Regions from separate parts of the Homo sapiens genome. Here regions 2 and 3 are each linked to region 1. The links are contacts of gene promoters, found by promoter capture Hi-C in human tissues and cell types (Jung and others, 2019). All regions are on one chromosome and are shown on one strand. Each heading gives the region's core, a stretch centred on a gene start or on the middle of the fragment in contact. The rest is flanking DNA. Distances are from core to core; before and after follow the strand shown.

Region 1 (4,941 bases), core at 1,425-3,924:
CACAAGAAGTATAGCAAAGACAAAGTCTTCCTGAGTCATAAAGGCAAGGGTCATCCCTACCCTTGAACAATACTGGTCTAGGTGCCTATGTAATACATGAGGAAAATTGATACTGATAAAGACTATTGACTGTTTCCTACCAGGTAATATTCAGAATGTCATCCCTCCTAGGCATCCTTGCATGTTAGAAGCTATGATATGAGATTATTGACAGAGTCTGTAATATTTTCTTGGTGAAATATACAATCTCTGAGTTATGCTAAGGATCATAGAACACTCTGGTATCTACATTTCAGAGTCTGACACTAGTGTGATTGCGGGTGTGGGATTAGTGGGTGGGAAGATGGTGTGATCTGTGTGATTGTGGGTGGGTGTGGTGGGGGAATGGATGTGGTCTGAGTTAGATGGCATGTGCCTGTGTGTATCTGTGTGTGTAGTTGCGGTGGGAGGCACTGGTTTGAATCAGCATGGGGCTTGCCTTGTCCGACAGGCAGCTGTCAGCCAAGGGGCACTTCCAGTTGTAATTGAGAAATGGCAGTGTGCTATCTCTCCCGGAGTGGGATGATAGTAATTAATTGTTCATTGATCCCTGCAGGTCAGCTAGAGGTCAGGGAAGTTACTCTAGTGGCCTTATAGTTTGCCAGGCAACCGGGAGCAGTGGTTTGAAGCCTCGGTGAGAGGTGAGAACTGTCCTGTGCCCTAAACCCTGATCCAAGGTGATGGGATAATTATGGTAACTTAATGTTTATGATTACAAATAATACACAAGTCAGCTATTCAGAAAAACCATGCCAGCACACTATTTAAGACTTGGGGAGGATGTGGAGAAAAGGTGTTTGACAGTGAACATTTTTCAGTACAGAATGGAACACTGCAATATGATTGTTATTATCATCACTTTCAAAAGCTTAGGTAAGTGTCCCTCTGTGGGTGAGGCTGTGATTGGAGAACCCCATAGATCTCATCTTGGATCCACATAGGTGATTGCATTCTAAGAGAACTCCTGTGCAATCTGAAGGGCTCATGCACAGTGAGGGGATAAATGAAGACTCAGTTCAGGCTCCAGCACTTCTGCAAAGTCTTCTTCCATCTGCCACGTTCTCCCAGGCTTCAGTGTTCTCCAACACATGACAGGGACACCCTCCTTTCATCTATGCAATCTTTATTCTGCAAATATTAATGGTGCCTCTCTTTTGTTCCAGGCACCATGCTAGGTGTGCATGTTGCATCTAAGTTCCCATGGAGCTTGTGTATGTCCTCAATGGTTTTCTCTGTCAACATCTCCCCTCTCCAACTAGATTGTAAGCTTTTCAAAGGCTGGCCATGTTGCCTGTCTTAAACAACAGCCACAGCAAACATTTATTGAGTGTTAGACTGGGCCAGGCACGTGGAGAGCTCCATAAAGCTTAGCACAGGGCCACATCGACTAGTCCCTCAATAAATATTGATTAATTTAAAAAAATACAGAACTGAATTGTCGAGCTGATCATGGGGATGGTGAGGAGCATAGGTAGGGGGTTGCTGTGGTGAAGTCTTGGTAGGTTCACTGTCTCCTGTGGGATGAGATTCAGAATACGTCCATCTGAGGCATCTGTACTTGTATGTCAGAAGCTATGGGGTGAGGTTATTGACAGAGTCTGTTGTGTAAACTTTCTTTGTGAAATATACTACCTTTAAGCTATGTTACGGCTTATAGAACAATGTGGTGTCTACATCTCAGGGGCATTTTAATTCAGGGAAGTGAGTGTTGGGGTGAAATCAGGGATCTGCTTTTCTTTTGAAATATTGATAGAAGGTTCTTTCTGTGCACCTGCACTTCTCTATTGGATGGCGCTGGATGTGGTTGCCTTTTGTGGCTCTTGGTTGCAATACAGTTCTCTTGTTGAAATGACCTCCTTCTGACTGACACATCTGCCCTAGGCTCATCAATGGCTACCAAAGCCAATGGACACCTTGTGGAACATAGTGTGGCATTTCACCCATGGCCTTCATGAAATGTACCTTTTGCGGTCTATGATCCAAGGCTTTTGTAGTTTTCCCTCCATCTTTTTAGTGTTGTTCTCAGTCCCCCTCATGGGCTCTCCAGGTGTTCCTCTATCTCTTCTAAGTTCTCCATTGTAATTGCCACCTATAGTCTCTACCTTCAGTGAGTTAGATGTCTCTCCCCAGCCCCTAGTCCTTGTATCTTTGGACTTCATAGGCAGATGTCTGCATCTGAATAACCCATACCCATCTTAAACTAGTAAATAAAAATGGAATGCACGATCATGTCTCTGTCTCCCATCCTCACCTCTATACCTGTTCTCCATTTAGTAAATGGCACCTCCATGCACCTGCCCAAGTGAGAAGCCTGGGGGTCATCCTTGACCCTCTCCTTTCCCTCGTCCCTCACCCCGTTGTTCTCCAATCCCTGGGATGAGTCTATCTCCTAAATATCTCTTGTATCCCTGTTACCTTCTTCACCTGCCAGGCCACGAAGATCATTCACTCCTCGCCATCTCCTTCTTAGGGCACTGAAATGGTTGCTGAAATTGTCTCCCTGTTTCGCCCTTGCCCACTGGCATTTGTTTCCCACCTCCCTCTTAGAGATCTTTTAAGAAATGCAGATTACGGTTCCCGCCTCACAATGCAAAGGTCAACGGTGACGCCATCTGGAGCGCGCTTGGAATCCAGCAGGCGGTTGCTGCCGCGTCTTCCACAACCTCCGCGGTCTGGAGCTGGCCTCCCCCACCGCCGCCCCAACCACCGGCCCCGCCGCCATCACCACCACCGTCACCTCCGCCGCTGCCTCCTTGGGGCCCTCCTCCTTCACCGCCCCCTTAGCCACCTCTACACATTCTAGGCTTTCTGTCCTGGAGAAGAAGCTATAATCGGTTTCCTTGTGGGCCCGGTGCGCAGCCATGGCGGACGGTGGCGGCGGCGGCAGCGGCGGTGCGGGCCCGGCCTCGACCCGGGCCAGCGGGGGCGGCGGCCCCATCAACCCGGCCTCGTTGCCCCCTGGCGACCCTCAGCTCATCGCTATCATCGTGGGGCAGCTCAAGAGCAGGGGCCTTTTTGACAGCTTCCGCCGGGACTGCAAGGCTGACGTGGACACCAAGCCAGCTTACCAAAACCTGAGCCAGAAAGCGGATAATTTTGTGTCGACACATCTGGACAAGCAGGAATGGAATCCTCCAGCAAACGACAACCAACTGCACGATGGTCTGAGGCAGAGTGTGGTTCAGTCAGGGAGGTCAGAAGCTGGAGTGGACAGGATTAGTTCTCAGGTGGTGGATCCAAAACTAAACCACATCTTCAGGCCACAAATAGAACAAATAATTCATGAATTCCTGGTGGCCCAGAAAGAAGCAGCTGTGCCAGCACTCCCTCCAGAGCCAGAAGGCCAGGACCCTCCAGCTCCGTCTCAGGACACTTCCTAAGAATATGCCTGACAGCTTTTGAAAGCGCTATTTAATTTTTGGTGAAGAAATGGATTCGGTTACATAAGAGTGCAGTTTCAGATTGAAGATAAGCCAAGTTCATCACTGAGCTCAAGATTTCCACCTCGACCATGAGCAGTGACCAGATTGAAAGGGAAGCAAGTTCGCCAGAGAGAAAGTTGACCGTGGCACCCTCCTGCATTGCGCTGCCATTTGGCCAGCCTTTCCAAGGGCATGACACCAAACACACACTACAGAGAGGGAAACACTACCGCGACCCAGGATTGTCCTGAAACAGACATCTATACTTGAACATGGAGACTGCACATGGATTTTAGGGTTTGTGCTCTGAGATAAACGAAAGCTACAGCGAGAGAACATAACCAATCCCAAAGACAATTTCAAAGAACAATGACAGTAAAGGTTAACTGGGAGGAATATTTGACAGTACTTATTTGATATTGTCTCTCAGAGTTGCAAACTAGATTGTACACAACATTAGTGTCAGATAGCTTTGAAGTTGTGACCTTCTTGTACATGAATCTTCTAGCCAGTTTCCTTTCCTTTGTAAGAGATAACAAAGCATGAAACCCTAGAATGAGTGAGAAGTTCAGACATTAGGTATAAGGAAACTCATTTGCAGACTCTCTGTCCAAGAATGCTTCCTGTCTTGCAGGGGCTAGTGAGTCTTGGGTGTGTTTATGTTATGCTCACATTTGTGTTTTATTTGAAAAGTGGATGGTCAATAAATGGCTTATCTTTCAACTGCAACAACAAAAAAGAAATGCAGATTTACATCCTTTTCCTCTTTAAGCTCCGTCAGTTTTCTGATATTTCTAGAAGGTCAGACACCTGGCATGGTTTATGAGGCCCGTGATAATGGGGCCCCTGGTCACCTCTGCTGCCCCGTACACTGTCATTTCTCATATGACAACCATGCCCATGACTATCCTGGACACCCTGTGTTCCCTCTGCTCACTGTGAAGGGAATGCCCTCAACCACTCCTACCCTCCTTTAAGACTCAGCTCCTGAGGAGCCACACATCGTCTAAGCAGGAGTGACAGACTCCTTCCTCTGTGCTCCCATAGATCTCATAAGGGATGACCACACTTACTATAGTAGCTAGGTCTGACGAAGCACTTGCTCTATTGCTCTACAGCTGGCAGTGTACTAAACGCTTAACTTCGCTTACCGTAGTAAGTCCTCATGATCTAATTGAAGAAATCGTATCTTTATTCCCATTTTTATTCCCATTTATAAATGTAGAAACCAAAGCTCAGACACTGCCTAAGTGGTGGGGCTGGGGCTGAGCCTGTATTGAGCACAGAGCCCTCACTTTTAACCCTTTTAACCATGCTTTTAGCCACACCACCTCACCACAGTGAACTGTCTTTGCTTACAGATCTGTCATCCCCACTTAAATGTGAGCTTCCTCCAGGGCAGGGATTTGCTTTGTTCATTTCTTTTCCTTAACCCCAGGACCTAGCACATCACAGGAGCTCAGCAATTTGTAGAAAGAAA
Region 2 (4,941 bases), core at 1,351-3,850, 180 kb after region 1:
AACTGTACTTGACTCCTAGCGGACCTTCAACTCTGTAGATTACTCAACAGACTGATTCTTAATTGAAGCTTTATTGTTTTTAATTTAGTTTGGCTTTAGACACATGGTTCAACTTGGCCTAGTTAGGTCTGGGATTTACTGGTGCCTCTCATTCATTTCATCATGTTGATTACCACTGGCTTTTTCCAAATTCTGTTCTTCATAGTAATATGTGGCTCTACTTTGGTTCTCCCATTTCCTTTGATGACGTGTTAATATTGAAGGGCAAATGGAAGCCCTAGTTCTGAATGTTATGATCCATGATTGCCCCTCTGTCATATCCAGTGCTGGTAGGCTGTGAAGATGGGCCGGGGGAGATGTTGTCAGCAATCAGGGGTAGGCATGGCAAGGACTGTGGAAACAGACCTGGCTGAGGGTCTGTCTCCAGGATATAAGTGAGCCAACCAATGGCCAGGAGCCAAGAGGCATGGCCAGGTGGTCTCCTTGCAGGTCCGAGAAGTCTCAATCTGGTTGGTGGAGGCTGTTTACAGAGCTGAATCCACAAGGAGATTGGATGAGATTGAGTGCAAGGTTATAGGCTCAATATGGAACAGGAGGTCCAGGTGGGGAAACTGAGGCAGAGTCCAGTGGTATGGGCTAGGTTAATATGGGAAAGAAGGGGGCAAAACTGTTTATGTGAGATCTGTTCCATCCTTGGCAGCTAACCTAATTCTGCCCTTCTAGGCTGATGTGCCAGGTTTGCCTCAGTCAGGATCGTCTGTTGTCTGGATCAGGGCTGAGCACATGGATAGCCATGGCTCTTGCTCAGGAGTGCGATGGAAGAAGTGGCTAATAGCAGCAATTTGGGGAGCCCATTATGTGAGCATCAGACCTTCCCCAGATACCCCCACCTCACTGGTGGTGAGGAGTTCCCCATATGTTGCCAGAGGAGTCTGGCGGGGACTCTAACAGTGATGGTCCTTTATTACCTGCAGTTTGGCAGGGAAGGAACAGGCAGGAATAGACCAAGGTTCCTATAAAGATACAAATACATCACCTCAAAGACTGACCCATTAAACGATTGTAACTTCTAACATCTTAGTCTAATCCAGCTTCTCACATTAACAGCTTACTCTCATCAAGTCCCCAAAAAGAATGGAAGCCAGGACAGATGAGCTTGATAAAGATGGCAATGGTTCTCAGCCCTGGTGAGACATTAGAATCATGCGCCCCAGTCCCAAAGTTCTGAATTAATTGATCTTGTGGGGGACCCGGTATATATTTTTAAAGTCTCCTGGGCAGTTCTAATGTGTAGTTGGAGTAGCAATCCTCTGATTTAGGACACTGTGCACTTCCAGGGGGAGGGAGGGAGTATGGAACAAAGGAGCCCAGAGTAAAAGGAGGTCATGGGAGGCTAGGAAAGCCTCCTCCCACCCAAAGAGTTTGCCCAGTGTCTGTCCTGCTTTTGGGTCTTTAGGCCACTTCTAAATCTTTTCACTTCTAATTATTCCCCAGCAAATCCCACCTCCTTCCCCAGGTCAAAGCAGACTGCTATAAAGGAAAAAGGAGTGGAGTGGACCAATGTCTCTTTGTTAAGAAAGTTCCACAAGCTTTGTTTTACTGCTTTATTTGGAGTCTGATTTTTTAATAAGACGGGGCAAAAATGGGCATTAGTATTTGTATTAGTCCATTTTTATGCTGCTGATAAAGACATACTCAAGATGGAGCAATTTACAAAAGAAAGAGGTTTAATGGACTCACAGTTCCACATGGATGGGGAGGCCTGCCAATCATTGTGGAAGGTGAAAGGCACATCTCACATGGCAGCAGACAAGAGAAGAGAACTTGTGCAGGGAAATTCCCCTTTATAAAACCATCAGATCTTGTGAGACTTAGTCACTATCATGAGCATAGCATGGAAAAGACTCACCCCCGTTATTCAATTTCCCTCCCACAACACATGAGAATCATGGGAGCTACAATTCAAGATAAGATTTGGGTGGGGACACAGCCAACCCATATCAGTATTCCACACATCCACAGAGGTACCCCTGGTATTCAAGGAAAAACAGCACAAAGAAACAGACCACTCACATTAGGATTATATTGGGTGCTTTTTTTCACCCCTAACAGTGTTTTTGTAATTGAAATCATTAAATGGGAGCATTAAAAGGGCCCTTCAAGGCCATCTGGTTCAGCCCATGCACCCCATGAGGAATCAGCAGGGCTGCATTCAGGAGCATTCAGGAATTTACCTTTACCCCAACCTGAGTTTCAATCCCAGCTTGGCTACTTGCTAGCTGAGCCACCTTGGGCATGTAACTTATGTTAAGTTTCCTCAGTTTACTTGTCCATAAAATGGGACTCATGATACCTACCTCCACAATACCACAGAGTGGTTGTGAAGAAAAAATGAGTCAATGACAAATATTAATCCACTTCCCTTATTAGAATTTTGAATACTGAATGTGATATTTGATCCTCCCACCATCACCACACACAACAGCATTTTAGCACCATCAATTTCTGTCATTAGCATTTGGGATGTTCTGTGGTGTCAACCTCATTTGATGAAGTTGACTAATGGGCTACCTAGGTAGAAGCAGAAAATATCTTCTCCTAGCAGTTTGCCACAGTGACAGGAAATTCATCATCATTGCTATGCCTTAACTAGAAAGCAGTACTGTTTAAAAAAAAACATGGAAGGGGGCCCACACTCGGAGTCAAAAGAATTAGGCTCTGATCCCAGTTCCACAAATGTGTAGCTGTGTGATCTTGGGCAAACAACTTAAACTTTCTGAGCCTCGGTTTTCTCATATGACAAAACTTGCTCTGCCCACCTAGATATGATAAGGGCCAAATGAAATTGTATATGGCAGCAGTTCCCAATCAGTAGCAATTCTGCCTCCACCCGACCCGAGGTACATTTGACAATATCTGGAGACACTTTTGATTGTCACAACTAGTGAGTAGAAGGAAGGGAAGCTGCTAAACAAACATCCTACGTTGCAGATGACAGCCTCCCACAAAGAGTTATCCTGTCCAAAATGTCAATAGTCCTGTGGTTGAGAAAGGGCTTTGTAACTTTGAGAGGCTCAGGTGTCATTCTTAAACAACAAGTACCTATGAGGAGGTTCACAGTGGCTTTCAGAGTCATTGCCACCTTCGTTCAGCTAATTTCTCAGACCCCTTTCCAACAGGACACAGAACTATGCGGAGGGCACACCCCTCTAAGAAGCCTTGCTCAGGGCAAAAGTGCAGGGCTTAGCAGGCTGGCCCCTGTGGAGGGCAGGTCTCCCGCCAGCCAGGGACACTTAGAAGAACAACCCAAAACAACAAGGGTTGTGAGCATGGGGAGGTTTAACCCAGCATCTTCATGTAGGTTTTTCAAAGATGCCTCAAACCCAACATGACTCATATCAAATTCATGTTCATCCCACATTCACTCCTTCTCCATGGTTCTCTGCATCAGCAAATACTACCACCCTTCATCCATGAGTTTGCTCAGGCCAGAAATCCAAATATCTATGGATTCCATCCACTTCTCTATATCACCTATTCTCTCTTTCTCTCTCTCTCTCTGTGTGTGTCACACACACACACACACAAACACACACACGCTGCTTAAAAGCCATTCAAAAGCTTTTCCGATAAAGACCAAAATTTTTAACACAGCCTGGCCTCTGGCCTGACTCTCCAACTTCATTTATTACCATTCTCCTCACCCCTGATGCTAGCCAATCAGTTGTGGCTTATTTTAGCTCTTTGAAACCACCATGCCACAGGGCCTTTGCACATTCTTACCTTATTCTTAGACACTCTCCCATTTTCTTGCCCTAATTAACTCCTATGCTTCCTGCAGATTTCAGCTTCCAGCTTCAGCTTCCAGTCATTACATTTTCAGGGAACTGTTTTCTGACCTCCTTGACAAGCCAGTTCCCTCTGTTATCCCTCTTGTGACCACCACCTCTCCTCCATAACCCCTACCCTGCTGGTAGTTTACATTTGTAAAAGTCTTGGATCAAAGTGTATCTCCCTCACTAAAGAAAACATTCCACCAGATTTGCTAACTATCATATTCACCACATAGCACACAGTGCCTTCCACATAGCAAGAAATGTATAAATATTTGTTGAATATGTGAATATGGATACCAAAGGCAAATTTGAGGCCAACTATAAAACAAACAAACAAAAGGCAGAAAAAACACTCTTAGGTTCATTTTAATTTTTGAACCCCTTTTGTGCCAAGACTAGCTTTTGGCCTAATGGAATATTTTTATGCTAAAATGTCTGAAATGCTGTCTGATGCCTCTGAGCACACTTAGGCAAACATTTCTGGTACAAAGAGAGATTATCAGGCAATCTGCCTTCCCTAGCACCAAATACTGTTTTCCTTGGGCACGTCCCAGCAGCTGCTGATAAATCTGCAGACAGTCCTTCTCAATGATCTTTGTCTCCCAGCTTTATCAAGGCAGCTTCTAGGAACAATGCTCCTACTCAGCTATCAGGCTGGTCCTACATAGGGGTCCATTTTGGAGACTCTCCTTAAAGTTATCTGACTGCACTGCGCTTTCCTCATCTGTGAAATCCATAACTAGCAACAAGGCAGGAACCAGGCTCTGCCCACCAAGGCCCATGGGGGTGGCTCTGCAGGTGAGGGGATGATTCTTCCATCTCCTGTGTGGTGGAGCCCCCAAAGGGAGCCCAGGCCTTCTCTCTGCGTTCTACTCCAAAGGGCAGTTCTCAGATATAGCAACTGTGAGTGATATATTTTTATTTTCCCGGAAAAATACTGAGCTTCTGTTCAAATGAGATTTAAGCCAACATGAAAGATGGAATGTGCTATTTTTTTTCTTTCCTAAGGTCCTCGATGTCACATCCAGCAAAAGCAGGTTGCCCATATTGTGGTAATTATTGTCTAAGCTCTTATTTTGAACAAAAGGAAATTGTGTGTGTGTGT
Region 3 (4,941 bases), core at 1,260-3,759, 140 kb after region 1:
CGGCCTCTCCCAGCACCTCACTCTCCACGGCCACTTTCACTTCTAAGATCTTTGTCTAAAGCTTTCAAGGAAATTAAAGGGCAAGCTAGTTACACAAAGTAATGTGACTTATGCCCTTTAGGCCCATCGCCTCCCCTGCTTTGCTGCCTATTCTCCCTAAATCTTTGCAACCTGATCAACCTGACTGTCTGTCACCATCACATTAACCAAAACTGTATTCTTTAAGGTTAAATCTCAAGTGCTTTGTCTAACCACCCTGCTCTCATTTCTGAATAGCATTTGACACAATTGACAACTCCCCCACCAACCCTTGCCCTCCCATGCATTCACACAGGTGCACACACAGGCACACAGACTTCCTTAAAATTATCTCCCTGGCTTTTGCAGCTTTCTCTGCAACCTTTCTGCCACCTCTCTCTCTCCAGTCTGATGATTTTCAAACCTTTCCCCTCAGAGGTTCTCCATCTCGACATATCTAAAACCAAACTCATGGTCTTTCTTTAAGACCTACTATCCTGGGTCTTGAGTGTCATTACCATCTTCCAGCCCACCAGACTGGATACCAAGGAGTCATCTTTTTCTCCTTCCTATTCTCAACCCTCACATTTAATTAGTCCCCAAGTCCTGCCAATTCTTCCTTCTTAACATCCCCTATACTTATACCATCATCTTCATTATCACTCTATTCTCTCCTTTCTAATTCATGTGGCCCATCTCTGCTAGATTAACCCCCTTAACACATCTGTCGAGCCTCATCAATGGTGACTCCTGTTTCCCATATGAAACTAAAGTTCTTGCTCTAAACTTAAAATGCCTGAATATGCTGGTCCTATCCTGCTCAGTCACCCTGATTTCCCATTACTCTAAAGCATGAATTCTTTGCTGCAGTCAAACTCTACTTGTTACATTTCTCCCTTCATGCTGATGAACATGATTTGCACTGACACCACCACCAGGTTGCTGATCCTTCTCTCTGCATGGAAAGCACCCTGCTCCACTCCACTTTGCCTCATCTTATTCCTGCAGGGCCCTGTTCAACGATCACTTCCTCCCTCAGGGCAGTTGGTGACTCCTGGACACCCCAATCTTGTCTCTAATTCTTTTTGCTCTCTCTGCTGATGCATCTTATATTAGTACATAGTGCTAATTATTTTATGATGGGTGTAACTGTTCAATTCAACATATGTTAAAGATTTATTTTGACCAAGTCACCAAGCTAGGAAATACAAAGGTGGGGAGGGAATATAAAAATATTATTATTATTATTATTATTATTGAAATGGAGTCTCGCTCTGTCACCAGGCTGGAGTGCAGTGGTGCACTCTCAGCTCACTGCAACCTCCGCCTCCCAGGTTCAAGTAATTCTCCTGCCTCAGCCTCCCAAGTAGCTGGGACTACAGGCATGGGCCACCACATCCAGCTAATTTTTGTATTTTTAGTAGAGATGGGGTTTCACCATGTTGGCCAGGATGGTTTTGATCTCTTGACCTCGTGATCCACCAGCCTTGGCCTCCCAAAGTGTTGGGATTACAGGCGTGAGCCACCGTGCCTGGCCAAAAATTATTTTTAATGGTCTGTACCAGTGACAGGCTTGAGGGTAGGAAGAAGGATTCTGGTTTTCTCATAATCCCCCTCAGCCATCCCTCCCATTCTTTAACATGAACAAATGATATTTCTTCAATTTTAGGTAAAAGCTATGGAGCCAATACAGGTGCAGCATTCCCTTCTACCCATTGGCAATTCTGGAACTTCCCTTGCTCTGTTAATAGACCAAAAAGAAAAAGTTGTTATTATGTTGAGTATTTACTGACTACAATGTAATCCAGTTAGAAATCCACAACAAATAGATAACCACAAAAAACATCTGAAAACAGATTTTCAAATAACTCCCAAGCTTGATAAGAAATACAAGAAAATTACAAACTGTTTACAACTCAAGAACACTACATGACAAAACTTATGGGATGCAGCCAAAGTGGTACTTAGAAGCCAATGAATAGCAGTAAACAAGTTTATTAGCACAAAAGATTGAAGTTAAATGAACTTAACTTTCAAATCAGGAAGTGCAAAAACAACAACAACAAAATTATCCAAGGAAAGTAGACGAAAGGAAGTAAAAATAATTTTAAAAGAAATTATAAATTAATCAACAAAAACAATGCTTGTCCTTTGACGAGACGAATCTTTGGTAAATTTCACTAAGAAAGAGAGAAAGTATACAAACACGTTGAGCCTGAGAAAAGCAGGAAGCTAAATTTCAGCCTGAATTTCAGTTACAAAGCAGGAAACTGTGCAGTCTCAGGCAAGTTTCTTAACTACTCAACACAGACCCACCATCTGCAAAATACAGGTAACAAAAAAAGCAATTCCTACCTCAAAAGTTGCTGTCACAATTAGATGAGATAGCATATGCAAAGGACGTAGCACAATGTCTGGCTCACAGAAACAGAAAATAAATAGTGCTATCATAATGGCATTTTAATGTCATAAACCTAAATGAATAGAGTAGTAGGTCTTAGTCCTGGGTTTGCATCAGGATTAACTGTGATGATTTTTAAAATTCATGTTGAATGATTATTTTTATTATTGGGAAAGTCTAATTTTCTCATCACAGGAATCATTTTTTAATTCACCAAACTCTATTGTCAACACAACTGTGTTCCATAGATACACCCAAACTTGGAGATTTCTGATTCTGTCAAATTTTTCCCCAGGCATTTCTTTTCTGATTTCTTCCCATGCAAGCTTCAAGGATGGGAAAGTCTGACACTGGAAAATTTTCCAACTTTTTCTTTTTCATTTCTTATTCCTTATGAACACGACTCCATATTCAATGGTTAGATTGGGCACCAAAATATATCACTCAAAAAAAAAAGGTGTTTTAGTTTGGGTTTCCTTAGAAGCAATCCCTCAGACAAGAGTCTTGGAACATGCAGTTTATTTGGGAAGTGTTCTCAGGAAGCATAGTATACTGGCTAGTGGGAAATTGAGCAAAGTAAGCAAAGGAAGCCAATAAAGTTATGAATGCCCAGGTTGCCACTGTGGGAAATTGAGGCCCAATGCCTTTGAGGGCCTCTGGGACAGCGAGTAGGACACACCTCAGATTTATCCTACTCAGGGAATGAGGAAGCTTAACCACCAACTTTCATTTGGCTTGGGTTGAGGGGGGCTCTTGAGCAATTCACTCCAGTGGCAGGGAAAGCCCTCAAGCAGAATCATGTTTCCTTGCAGGAGGAAGCCATTGGCCTTTTGGAGACTCAAGGGGCTATGGGCATCTGCTACAGAAGCCAACCAATGTCAACCCAATGCTCATGCCTAGGGTAGTTTGTGTCCACATTGAGGGGTGAGCAACATACTTTGGAAATTCTTTCATGCTTCCCTTCTACGCCAGATTACCTTTTATTTAACCATCCTAGTCTTTAGGAAGCTCTTCACAAAAATGAAAAGATTTGTGCTTTTTAATAAAAGGACTTGGAATTTAATATAAGTGATCTACAGGGTGCTTCATGACATACATGCTACTAATTGCTCCCTTACCTTTTGTGTTACCCTGTTTCAAAATTATTGTTTCTTAAAAAAAAAAAAAAAAAAAACAACAACAACAACAATAATCACAGAGTTATCTATGTGATTGGATGGTGCATGTGATCAGGGTACCATAGAAGGGCATGATATGGGGAGGTTCCAGCACATTCAGCAATTCATACGCCATGCTCAGAGATCTTCAAGAGTATTTGCAACCTTTTTAAAATTAATCTTCACAGAACTTCTAATAGTAAAAATAGCACTCACATATTTTTTGCTTTTAGGATTCTCTCAGAAGTCTCTCATCACTCTAATTCATTTTTTCATAGCTTCTGCTATAATTTATTTTATTTTATTTTACTTCATTTCAGTTTTGAGAGGTTAATCTCACTCTCTCACCTAGGCTGGAGTACAGTGCTGCAACCTCAGCTCACCACAACCTCTGCCTCAGGTTCAAGCGACTCTCCCACCTCAGCCTCCTGAGTAGCTGAGATTACAGGCATGCACCACCACACCCAGCTAATTTTTGTATTTTTAGTAGAGCCAGGATTTCCCAATATTGGCCAGGCTGGTCTCGAACTCCTGACCTCAGGTGATCCACCTGCCTTGGCCTCCCAAACTATTAGGATTGCAGGTGTGAGCCACTGTGCTCGGCCTTCTGCCATAATTTAAATGTGTGCCCTCCAAAATTCAGGAGTTGCCAATGTGATAGTATTAAGAGGTAGGGCCTATAAACGATGATTAGGTCATGAGAACTCCCTGGTAAATAACCTTAAGGCCTTTATAAAAGAGGCTTCAGTCAGCCTTCAGTTTCTCTTGCCTTCCTGTCATGTGAGGATACAGGAAGAAGGTCCTCACCAGATGCTGGTGCCTTGATCTTGGGCTTCCCAGCCTCAAGAACTGTGAGAAATGAGCTTCTGTTTTTTATAAACTAGCCAGCCTTGGGGATTCTGTTAGAGCAGCACAAGCAGACTAAGATAGCTTCCTTACAAGACCAGGAATGTAGATGTCCCCACTTTCATATTGAAACACTGAGGCATAGAGAGGTAAAATAAATTGCGAGAGGTAGCAACAGATCTCTATTATCATCCTCACTTCACAGGACTGTTGTTTCCTCTGCTGAAGAGCTGGCTTTGGCTGAATTCTCTCACCAGCTTTTGGCAACGTCAGATCTGAGCATGATGGCCCATCCCAGTAGAAGCAAAGCCATAGCTTGTTGTGGGGACAGAGGTAAGTTCTGAGCGTCATCAGTGAGCCTGGGGACATGTGATGTGCCTTGGAGTAAACTGGACTCACTTGATAAATAAAGATATAAAAACTTCTATTTCTCAATGAAGGTTTTACTTCACTTCAAGGACCTAGACAGTCTCAGTTGCTTAAACCACATCCAGAAGGCCCCATGGGAAGTGTCTTCAC

The links. The method cuts DNA at HindIII sites, captures the fragments that hold promoters and counts their contacts. A contact is called where the count stands out against the background at its distance.
Region 2: a fragment that was not itself captured here is called in contact with the fragment with the promoter of BOD1L2 in region 1 in 2 of the 25 tissues and cell types used here (H1 embryonic stem cells and mesendoderm cells).
Region 3: a contact is called between a fragment that was not itself captured here and the fragment with the promoter of BOD1L2 in region 1, in 6 of the 25 tissues and cell types used here (H1 embryonic stem cells, adrenal gland, heart left ventricle and 3 more).

What each region holds. Positions count from the first base shown.
Region 1 is chr18:57,144,413-57,149,353 of GRCh38, forward strand. BOD1L2 (biorientation of chromosomes in cell division 1 like 2) reads left to right here and starts at 2,675. Exons shown (of 1, transcript NM_001257964.2): 1 at 2,675-4,941. The coding sequence starts at 2,901. The coding sequence ends at 3,419. RefSeq lists an enhancer at 2,844-3,439. The HindIII fragment of the contact is 20,182 bases long and covers 1,107-4,941 here.
Region 2 is chr18:57,321,619-57,326,559 of GRCh38, forward strand. No RefSeq gene overlaps it. Among named protein-coding and RNA genes, the nearest start is that of ST8SIA3, 28 kb to the right of the region's middle. The HindIII fragment of the contact is 5,987 bases long and covers 1-4,941 here.
Region 3 is chr18:57,287,657-57,292,597 of GRCh38, forward strand. No RefSeq gene overlaps it. Among named protein-coding and RNA genes, the nearest start is that of ST8SIA3, 62 kb to the right of the region's middle. The HindIII fragment of the contact is 3,065 bases long and covers 978-4,042 here.